Regions from separate parts of the Homo sapiens genome. Here region 2 is linked to region 1. Evidence: promoter capture Hi-C in 16 types of primary human blood cells and fetal thymus (Javierre and others, 2016). All regions are on one chromosome and are shown on one strand. Each heading gives the region's core, a stretch centred on a gene start or on the middle of the fragment in contact. The rest is flanking DNA. Distances are from core to core; before and after follow the strand shown. Region 1 holds the start of LRRTM3 (leucine rich repeat transmembrane neuronal 3). Region 2 holds the start of LOC101928859 (a long non-coding RNA gene).

What was found. Contacts are between HindIII fragments. The CHiCAGO score rates a contact against its expected background, and 5 or more counts as called.
Region 2: a fragment that was not itself captured here is called in contact with the fragment with the promoter of LRRTM3 in region 1 in 1 of 17 cell types (M2 macrophages); the score reaches 7.6 in M2 macrophages.

What each region holds. Positions count from the first base shown.
Region 1 is chr10:66,923,776-66,929,649 of GRCh38, reverse strand. LRRTM3 (leucine rich repeat transmembrane neuronal 3) reads right to left here and starts at 3,614. Exons shown (of 3, transcript NM_178011.5): 1 at 3,063-3,614; 2 at 1,198-2,729. The coding sequence starts at 3,066. All of the region lies in intron 7 of CTNNA3 (catenin alpha 3), which reads left to right. All of the region lies in intron 3 of LOC101928961 (a long non-coding RNA gene), which reads left to right. RefSeq lists a silencer at 3,642-3,751 and an enhancer at 3,371-4,227. The HindIII fragment of the contact is 12,033 bases long and covers 1,937-5,874 here.
Region 2 is chr10:63,885,289-63,891,162 of GRCh38, reverse strand. It overlaps LOC101928859 (a long non-coding RNA gene), which reads left to right and starts at 4,069. Exons shown (of 4, transcript XR_246119.4): 1 at 4,069-4,209. All of the region lies in intron 1 of LOC124902439 (a long non-coding RNA gene), which reads right to left. The HindIII fragment of the contact is 8,813 bases long and covers 1-5,874 here.

The DNA.
Region 1 (5,874 bases), core at 2,365-4,864:
AGAGAACTGTCATAGTGTTGGTCTTTTTTCCTCTAAGATTCGTTTTATACATTTATTAAGGTGTTATCAAAGTCGTCCTTTTCAATGAGGCTGTGGGTGGAAGGCACGTCTTGGAATGTGTTCTCTTTACACATCTGAATGAAGTGTCTGTCATTAGGGGACTGGTGTGTGCAGGACATGTAATGGAACACAACAGGGCAGCCTGACAAATTCTGAACAGAACAGGACAGAGCTAAGGATTCTACTAACTACATTAGGGTCTTCGAAAAAACTGGAAAGAGAAATTCTGGTAAGCTCTCAACCACATGCCTGTAGCAAGCTGCTTTCCCATTCGCGAACCTTATCTGAAAACTCCCTAACTAATGTGAGGTGTGGTGGAGAAATCTGGCTTCTCAATGCTGTTTCATTTATTTATTTATGAAACATACAGGCTAGAAGAAATTGGCAGTGAAACCTCTAGTCTGATTTTACAGAGATGGGTTTCAGAGACAAGGCTGAGTCGAAAACTTTACATTTTTGTCATCTCCTCACATTTTGCAGTTGTCTGCTTGCAGTATTTTAACCCTTCATCACTTTGTCCCTGTGCTTGCCTTACTGTAATTCAGACACCTCTGGAAACTGCTCAGGGTGCTGCTTTAACCTAGCACCATCTTTTGATAGTTTCCTGCAATTTTCTTTTCTAAGTCAGGCATTGGTTTAAAGGCTCTGCCTGTCTGTAAAATGTTCCCATAACTGAGTCATCTCCAAGAATCAGCTCAAGCTCCGAGCACCTGGAATCATTCACCTCTTTCCTTGATTTGCCAGTGAGGTGCAAACCTTCTATAACTGTAGATTTGGTCCCACCAGGAGGCTAACAGCGAATGTGGGGGATTACTTATGAAAGAAGTTTTATCTTAAAACAAATGCGACATTAATGGAATCAGTAAAGGGTCTTATACAATAGGTATTATATTAAACCGGAGTTCAAGCTTCACATTGATTGTGGTATTTAAATTTCAATGGGTTGATTATGTATGAGAGGAAAATGACCAGTATTATGAATGCACTAAAACGGACAAGGAAGGATCTTGCCAGCAAAGTGAGAGGGAGAGGGAAGGGGAGGGGGGGCATCGCGTTCCCTTGATAGTCACCAGAGTTCAATAAAGCACCACTTATTTCCCAGCTTTTAAGAGCTCTTTTTATCACAATGGTTCATACCTCACACTCCCTGGAGCCCGATTTGTTATAGGTGCAGGGTCCCGTCCCATTCAGCAGCATCTCGCTGGTCTCCGTGTTGGTGGGTTTATAATCTACATAAAATTCCTGGGTGCTGGGAGTCATTTGCTTTAGGGACTGTCTTTTCTTTTTCCTGTGCCTTCGCATGAGGGAGCGCTGCTGCAGCTGCTTCATGCTCGCAGGGTACCGCTTCCATGACACGTAGATAACCAGCAGGATGACGAGCACGGACAGGAAAAGCGCCACGCTGCCCGCGATGATTTTATGGAAAGAGATGTGCTCGGCGTCAGCATCGGTCTCTGGGCCGGGCTCTGTGGCTCCCACCGTCGGGGGCAAAGGGGGTTTGCTCTCATGCTTCGGCCTGGGGAGCTTGGGCTTAAACGTCGGCTTTGGGAGAGCCCTGGCCAGATCAAACCTCTCTGTAGTACTTTTGCCACAGATGCTGTAGTTCTTCACTGCATCGATCACATTTACTCCTTGCAGCTCTTTGGGACTGGCACAGATAATTGTATTCTCCCTTAGACCTTTAAAACTTTTCAGCCAGTTTACAAGGGAGCAAATATTTCTGCTGCATTCCCATATATTCCCAGCAAGACTGATGTCATTGAGGGATATCCAAGAATCCAAAATCTCTTGACCAATAAATGTGAGCTTGTTGGAATCCAGGTTGAGGCGCTGCAGATTCGGGACACACTGGAAAACACTGGGTCCACTGAAAGCTTCGATCTCATTGCCTGATAAATCAAGCCTTTGTAAGGAGCTCCAGGTCCAGGACATGGTCTGTCCTATGACACTGATTTTATTCCACTGCAAGTAAAGGTTCTGAAGGCTGACCAACCTTGGAAAAAGGGCCAGGTTGAGCTTGGAAAATTGATTGTGCTCCAGGTGAAGTTCTTTGAGTCTGATCATGCCAGCAAAGACATTCCTGGCTAAACTTCGGATCCGGTTATATCCCAGGTCCAAAAGTTCCAGGTTGCGGCAGTCTTGGAATATTCGCACAGGGATGGTTCTCAGGGAGTTAGACCGTAAATGTAAACTCAGCAGCTTCCGCAAGCCCCGAAACTGTTCAGATCCCAGAGAATGCAGCTGATTATAGGACAGATCCAAGTTCCGTAAATTTGTCACAGGTCTGAAGGTATTGTTAAGAAAATAGGAGATTCTATTGGAACTAAGAATCAGCTCTTTGAGTCTGCGTATTCCATTAAAAGCATTTTCGTCAATATTGCTGATATGGTTATGGTCAAGGTATAGCCAGGTGAGCTGGTTGAGCCCTTTAAATTGATTATACTTAAGTTTTTGAAGGCTGTTATAGCGAAGGGACAAACCTAAGCAACCAGCAGATATACTTGAGGGTATCTCCTGTAATTTCTGAGATTCACAATATACCATTTTGCCTTCACACCTACAGCCCTTAGGGCATCCTCGTTCGGCAGAAGAAAGCATTGTCAGTAAGACAGTGGGGGCTATAACCAGTGCTACAGCTGATCCGCTCAGTAGCCTAATTACATTGAAACCTGGAAATAAAAACAACTTAGAAAAGTTATCCCCCCAAAAAAGAATTAATCCTTAATCAAGCAAAAATAGGCATATATTTTTCATTTTTAAAAATTTAAATCTAAATAACACTTAACATCACATATTATCTCTTTGTAATTAAAGAGAATTGTCTTTAGTGTTTTGTTTTTTTAAATAGTTAAACAAGGAAACATGCCACTAAGCAAATAAATTCATAGTCTTAGAGCAGAGCAAGGTAATCTCTAAAATAATTAAGGCAGAATTATTACACACACTAGAGGTTTTTTGTTTTTTGTTTTTAAGAAGGAAAGAAGAAAAATGACAAAACATACCCATCCTTTGTATTGTTCAAAGGTCGTCCTTAGGTCTTTTGCTTTGGCTTAGGGGCCAGTTGCATGACAGCCCCTGTCAGCTGCACTGTAGTGAGTCAGGGCTCGCTGACACCCAGGAAGAAAAATTGGACCCCTTGGGAGATGGACCGATTTTGGAACATTATTCTTTGCCAGCCACGCAGAACACTCCAAGAACAAATAAATCCCAACACCGCATTCGCAGCAAAACATCAAAATCTTCCTAGGTAATAGGATCTTCATGGATATTACGTTTTTGCATCTTTACAGTTTTTTGGGGGGTGGGGAGGGGGCGGTTAAAAAAAAAACTGGATCCTACAATTTCTTCTTATCGAAAAACATGATGTATTCTTCCAGGCAATTTGGGGCTACCTGAGCTGCCACATCTGTATTCCATACCCCAGCAGTTCCCGTGATGAGCACCCAGTTCAGCCACAGAGCTGCGTTGGAGCCCAGAAGGCAGGAGAGCCCCGTACCGCGCACACGCTCAGCTCACTTCTGCAGACTGTCATTCTGAAAGCTGCTCGGACTGTTGCTTTGGTTTCAGTGAATGCAGTCTTATGTAAAGCTGCCCCCAGTGGTGAAGAACATTATGGGCATGTGCAGAAATGTCTCTCTTTTATCTTGCAAATGAGCAGGCTCTCTGCTGGAAAATGAATGATTCTTTTGGGTGGCTCAGTAGGAACTGAATGGTCACCGTGATCAATAACTAGCAACATTTTCTGTGATTTCCAAGTCTTGTTTTACAATTTGGCAACGTCTTTATTGTCTGTGTCCACTTAATTGCTAAACATGTGCTGCCCAGAGTTTTTCTGGAGCTTGACATTAAGTTCACAGACCGAACGTCAATTTTTCTTAACCTCAACGCAGGCTTTAAACTGAAATTTATAAAATGAATTATTGAGCTTTTCACAGAGAAGCATTAACTGCCTGCCCATTTGACCTCTTGGAGTCACAGTGATTATATTATGCAAGGTGTCTCAGGATGTTAGAACACAAACATTTTGGAATAGAGGGGATGACTGATGACAAGTGAATTAATGTGTCCAATAGCCTTTCCGGTTTTCTCACAGACGATATAATTGATTTTATGGCTATAGTTTCGTTTGTTGTTTTGGTTGTTGTAATTCTCTTTTAATTAGAAGGGAAATAAACCATTTTTAGTGTTAGGATACGAATCAAGAGATCATTTGGTTCATACTTTATTGATGTTGCTGCTATTTATTACACTAATAATATTTATGGAGCACTTTCTAAGTGCTTTAAATGGGCTACGTTGTTTTCTCTTTAAACAATAGTATGATGTGGGTCCTATTATAACCTCTCTTTTAAAGATGAGGAAACAGACTTGGGGAGGTAACTTTCTCAAGGTCATACAGCAAGCGAGTGCTAGAGCTGAGCTTCAGAAGCGAGTCATTCTTATGCCGAACCACTAACCACTAGATGATCCTGTTCAACAACATTGTTATCTTCATTTAAAAAAGAAGTCAGTGAAAATGAAGCCGATTAAAGGATTGGGGCAAGGAAGCTGTGATTAGCAAATTCTTGCTTGTTCTATTAGAATTGCCTAAATTTCTTTTGGTCTGAGGTTCCTAAAGAAGTATAAAAACTAAGGCAGCGTAGTTTAGTGATTAACAGCATAGATTTTGGCACCTAGATTCCAACTCCTGGCTACAATTTACCAGCTATGTAACCTTAAGCGCGTTACTTACCTTCCCTATGCCTCAGTTTTCTCATCTGCAAAACGGGCATAAAAACAAAAACTCACTTCATGTTTTGAGAATTAAGTCATTTTAATATCTGTATGTTACTTAGAACAGTGTGTTGCATGCAATAAGCCTGTGTAAGATATTTGAATAATATTAACTTTATTTGTACTTGCTAGGATTACGTACTGAATATTGACTATACTGACCTTCATTAACTCACAAAGAACAACTTTAGTGAGCATTTTTAAATATTGTACATGGTGGATTTCTGAGATTTACTCAGTCTTGCCTTCTTTGATGAGATAACTTCCTTTATGTTCATCATCTGAACTTTATCTTTAAAATAAATCTTCTGGTTCTGTGGATCATGACTAATAATGTTCGATTCTTTTCATCTCCAAAGTAGAACATAATAACATCTGCCATGTAGAGGCATTTTATTTAAAAATAATGGTATTCTTGAAAAAGTTTGCCTTGTTGTTTTTTGTTAGGTGAACTGTCTGTGGAAAACCGTGGAGAGCTTTCACATTCTCCAAGGATGAGATGTTTGATAAAGGCTAGTAATGACAATCAAAAGGGGTCCTACAGATATAGTACAATGGATATTACCAATTCCTTGGGCAGTATGTTCTTAATAGGGCAGTGCTTTCCCCCAGAGTTACCTAAGCTGTGAATGCACATGAAACATCCAGTGAGTTTCTTAAAAAGATAGACTGCCCAATCCCTCCCCCAGGATTCTCATTCTAGGGGGATGGAAGAGTGTGTGCTTTTCAATAGTCTCTGATGAAATAAGTTTAAGAAACTCACTGTGAAGGAATGATTAAAAATAATATTTTCTCCTAGTAGGAAGAGAGGGTTTGCACACTTATAATACTGAGATGTAAGTTCCACAAGGACAAAGACAATGTTTTGTCTACTTCATTTTTCCTAATATCTACAACAGCACTTGGCACATTGCAGACATGCAATAAATAGCTATTGAAAAAAATATGTTTTTATATCAGTCACAAGTACAATGGATATAGTATAACTGATTATGTAATGTTCAACATTTGTACATGGGATTGAGTCCTGAAAATTTCCTC
Region 2 (5,874 bases), core at 1,989-4,488, 3.0 Mb after region 1:
GAGAGTAAGTATTAATAACAGACATACAAGATACTGAGAGAAGGGAGAGTAATTAAATGGAACAGGGACAAAGGGGAAAGAAGGAGGAGGGCAGATCATGGCAGACTTCCTAGAGCAGTTGACTTTTGAGTTGACTAATTAATGCTAAAATATGAATGGCCTGTACACAAACATTTATAGCAGCATTATTCATAATAGCCAAGAAATGAAAACAATCCCAATGTCTGTCAGCTGATGAATGGATAAACAAAATGTGATATATCCATATAATGAATATTATTCAGCCATTAAAAAAATGAAGTATTGATACATGCTATGACATAGGTAAACCTTGAAAACATTACACTAAAAGAAGCCAGAAACAAAAGACCATAGATTGCATGATTCCATTTATATGAAATTTCTAGAATAGGCAGATGCATAGAAACAGAAAGTAAATTAGTAGTTGCCTAGGGCTGGCATTTTGGGAGAAATGGGTATGGGTTTTCTTTTGAGAGTAATGAAACTGTTCTAAAATCGATTATGATGATAGATGCACAACTCTGTGAATACTCTAAAAACCATTGAACTATACACTTTAAATGGGTGAATTGTATGTGAATTACATCTCAATAAACCTGTTTTTTAAAAATGCAAGTAGCCTCTTATGCCTTAATTATTAGTTGATAACTGCTTGTCTGCAGGTACTTTGAAAACTTCACCTCAATGGTCTGAGAAACGCAGGTACTTTCAATAGACAGAAAGAGTAAAGGAGATATTCTGGTCACCAGGTCTCCTGCTTTGCCCATGCCAGGAGCACACCGGCATTTCCCCGTGCCTGAGCAGGCTACCTCTCTCCTTACCATCATCAGTCTGTTCCTATGACAATTTGCATTAGCCCTATTTGGAGGTCCTCGGAGACATCCCTTTGTGCACTAGTCATGTGGAACAGCAGGCTGGAAATACTAAAATGCTCATTACTGCATGGAAAAATGATCTCAGGCTAATTCTTAAATGAACATTTGATTCAGTATAAGTCTGATATAATCTCTCCTCTTTCTGACAATGATTCCACTATGCTACCATCTGCAGAATTCCGCTTTCTCTCTGAAAGCAACTTCCTGCCTGGATAATACAGTCAGTGGAAACGCAAAAGGAGAGCCATATGTCACAATACATGCACATTGCATTCCATGCTCGCTCTCTTGTCCCACTATTATTTTTCATGCCAGTCACTAGTTATGAGCGTTTGTTGCTTTAAATGACTTCCTCCAAAGATATGCTGGATTCAAATTCAATTAGAAGTGGAAAGGAAAAACACAGCAAGCAGCTTTCTCCTTATGTCCAGCTCAGTAGGAACTCAGATTCTGAATACTGCCCAGGAGATCTTTAGCCATCTTTCCTCACATACGGTTTCCTTTTCCTATAATTTAAAAGGACTAGGATGAATGAACAGACACCTGAACAATTCTGTGGGCTAAGCAGAACCCCCAGGAGTCAAATCTGTAGGTTGAATTCTCCAAGTTCATACAACAGACGCTCCAGTTAATTTTCTCATGTGACCCGCATTCCTTCCCAGACTATCTTTCCTGCAGTCTTTTTTAAGCAGACAAGAGCCCATGGAACCCGCCCTCTGACACACTGGATTGAAGCGGAAGGAGCACCTGGGATAATCAATGTCTCTCTCCCGAAAATGTGGAATTGGAACAAAGAGACTATATATAGTGAGTTGAATTTGGATGTGGGAGCTTAAAGGTCACGTTTGGTGGAGGGTAGAGGGAAGAGCTGGGCCAGCCATTTCTTAAAGTGTACAAGAAGCAACAAAGAAACCCATGTGGGGTGGAGAAGAGAACAAAGCCAAGAGAAGAAGGAGTCTGAGAAAAAAAAAATGTAGTGATCTCCCTAACTCTAGGTTTCTCATCCTCAGCATTATCAACACTTGGGGCTGGATCATTCTTTGTTAAGGGAACTGTGCTGTGCACTGTAGGAGGTTTAGCAGCGTCTGTGGCCTCTGCCCACTAGAAGTCTGTAGCTCACATCTCCCACCCCAGGGTAAAAAACATAACTATCTCTATACATTGCCAAATGTCCCCTAGACAGCAAAGTCGCCTCAACTTAAGAACCACTGCCCTGACTAAACATTTGTTTATTTATCCCTCAACAGGCATTATGCAGGGCAAAACCCAAGTCATCCTCAACTCTCATCATTCATATCCTGCATCCAATCCATAATTAAAATCAGCCACCTCTGCCTTTGAAATATACCCAGAATCCAATCATTTCTCATGACATTCATTTTGACAACTCTGGTCCAAGCTACCCTCATCTCTCCCTGAATTATCCCCAAAGCCTCCCACCTGGCCACCCTCACTCTACCCTAGCCCGCACCAGAACATTTTCATATAGCAGCCAAAGAGAGCCTTTTAAAATGAAAGTCTCCTCATGTCACTCTCCTACTTCAAACCCACCAAGGTCTTCTATCACTATAAGGACCAGTCAGAGTCTTTATATTGGCCTATAAGATCCTTGAAGATTTTGCCCCCACTTGTCCCTCTAATTCACTTCTTACTGCTATCCCCCTTACTCATTCCACTCCAGTTCCGTTGACCTCCTTGCTGTTCCTCAAACATGTTAAGCACATTCCTGTCTCCAGGCCTTTGCAAAGGCTGTTCCCTCTGCCAAGAATGCCTTTCCCCCAGATATTTGGCTTGCTTCCTCATGTCATTCAGATCTCTACCCAAATGTTTCCATATCAGAAGGGCTTCTGTGATTACCCTTTTTGAGATAGCAACTCCCATTGCCTCTCTTCCCTACCACCCCTACCCTGCTTTACCCCATGTATTCATTGTGTTTGTTTATTATCTGTCTCTCCATCTAGAATATAAACTCACAAGAGCACAGCTTTGCCTTGTTTACTGCTGTGTCCACCAGCCTCTGACCTAAGCAGTGATGGCGCTGCTGAATGATGTGCGGACTACTGTGAGTGCAAAGATGATCACTCTATTGCTTTATCAGAGCAAAACTGGAAATAATCTAATTCTCTAACAATGAGGCAATGGTTAAATAAACTATGACTTATATGTGCAGCGATTTAAAAACTTATGTATTCAAGGTTTCCCAGGTTAAATTGAAATCTTGCCAGTAAACCCTAACATAACTTCCACCAACTCCACAAAATACTTGTGGAACCCAGACATAAATGAAAACTGATGTAACTGAAAACTAGGGTTGTATATCAACCTGTTCCCAGAATCTGGGAGGAATTTTCATTAATAACAAAGAAAATAAAACCAGACTCTCTTGTAACTTCCAGAAACAGAGTCTGTACACTTGAAAGTAGGTAGATGTACTTGTCAGTACTCCCTACTTCCGGCTCCCTGAATTAATCAACTAGTATTTACTGTGCAAATACCAAATATTGAAAGCTGTCCAAAATGCTTTAAGGTTATAAAGATGTCTCAGACCTTAATAATAATCACCAGAGCAGTAACTATTATGCCACCCTACCTTTGAATGCTCTGCACTGCTGAAGCACACACACTCCAACAGGGACTATCTTGCGTGATCTTCATGATTGCACTGAGACAGGCAGAGGAAGGTTTGCTTTCCTGTTTGACCTCTTTTCAAGAAAAATTTATCAGACTGGGATAAAAACAGGGTGTTCATCTGAAAAGATTGTCCCAGCTGGAGTATGTACTGAGAGGTGTGCAGAGGAAAGAAAACCACTACACGTGGATGAAGCATCCAGCGACTGCCATCAGAGGGAGCCATCACAACACGCAGACCGGAAGGTGCAAAGGGAGGCAATAGCGCCACGGGAGCCCAGCGAGGGCCCCCAGCCGCAGCAGTGCGGCTGCGCAGTGGGAGTTGTAGCCATGGGAACAACCTAGGGACCTGGCAAGGAAAGACTAGGCCAGACCTTAGCACCCCCTGTCAGGGACTTCCTGCTGGTTAATCCTGCTTCCTCTGCCAGCAGGAAGTCAGCTAGCAAAGAAGCCCCAATGATATAGTCTACAGCAGGCAGCCTGCCAGGGTGCAGAGCAGGGTAGAAAATGGATCGGAAGGGCAAAGGTGAGGTAGAGTTGGGAGACTTACCTGAGGTCACATAGTCAGCTTCACCTGATTGTCAGGAAAGTAACCCTGTGAACCCTAGCTGGGGAGAAGAACCTAAAGGCAAGAGAGAGAACCGTTCTATAGGACCCGGGAGGATTTGCCATCATCTGAAGGAAGGTAGGGTTCCATACAGTCTCTGGAAGATGAGGTAAGAATAGTCAGTGATCCAGTTTGATTATGTAACCACATGGAGCAAGAGCTCTAAATTTACCATTGAAAATATCTTCCCAACAATGTCAGGCAGAAAATTGTTAGGCCAGCCGGGAAAGGCTCAGGTCTGGGAAGAGTCATTCCAAACCCAGAAAAACAATGACTCAGAAGAAATGATCTTCCATTTCCTAATTCTTAATTCTTAATACCAAATAAAATCCTTCTTTTTGCAAGCTAGAGATTCCCAGCTAATCATGCTGTGTTTTGCTCTGATTAACCTTTGATATAGGCATTTCCTCTTTTTTTCTTTTTTTTTTTTTTTTTTTTGGTTGTTTGATGCCAAGCTCTCCTTAAAGGTCAGTGAGCATCATACCTAATCTGGCTTCTAATTACATTTGTAAACATTTCAGAATGAATAAATGCCAACATAATTAACCACCCGGCATATTATCTGCTCTCTCCCTTTGCCCAGAGTACAGATATCCAGCAAAGGAGCAGCCCAGGCTCCTCTGACACTCATATTTGTGATATGGAAATTATTTGATTGAGTCTATTTAAATCAGAGTTTCCTAAGATTCATTGTCAGGCCACTACTAGGCACAAAGATCACCTGAGGATCATAGTAAAAATACAGATTCCCGAGCACTTTGGGAGGTCGAGGCGGGCAAATCACGAGGTCAGGAGATCAAGACCATCCTGGCTAACATGGTGAAAACGCATATCTGTTAAAAATACAAAAAAAAAAAAAAATTAGCCGGGCACGGTGGCGGGCGCCTGTAGTTCCAGCTACTCAGGAGGCTGAGGCAGGAGAATTGCGTGAACCTGGGAGGCGGAGCTTGCAGTGAGCCGAGATAGCGCCACTGCAGTCCAGCCTGGACGAAAGAACGAGACTCCGTCTCAATTAAAAAAAAAAAAATACAGATTCCCAGATCCTAGTCCTAGAATTCTAATTTGTTCTGGCTGGGGTGGGGCCTAGAAATCTGCATTTCTTCCTTATATTACTTTTCCAATACTGATATAAAATCCAGTTTGTAAGCCACTGATTTAGATCATTTTTCCCTTGGCATGAAGTCCATCATACTCAGTCATCTCTACTCTTATCCCCTAGTCCATAGTACCCCTTACTTGCAGGCTCTTTTATGACATTTTACCTTCTAAAGCACATTATCCTGACTCCCTCTCTTCTAATTGAGAGGGGCTAGATGATCTAAAAATTTCCCTTCAGCTTTAACTTTCTAGGAATTTATGATTCACTGGCACAGAAACGGTAGAGTGAAAATTCAAGCATTGCATAATTTGTCCCAAGGCCTATCAGTGGTCCATCCAGTGTTAATGGCCTTCTTCATTCTACTAGTGAACAGAGTCACCAGGCCAGCACCTCCACACCTGTGACCAAAGGCAAACCCAGGGCCAACATGGCAGGCTGGGCAAAGAAGCTGAAGCAAGGTCCCAGCTCTTTCTAGGACCCACATTAAAACCTAAGGACTACTTGCCAGGCCAATTGGCTTCACAAACACTATGTCATCTCTCTGGGAGTAAAAAAGTAGGCACCAAGACAAGGGAAATCCCCCAATAAGATGACTAACTCTCATCCTTAGCAGGCTGTGTCCCCAAGCCTGTACAAATCCTCAA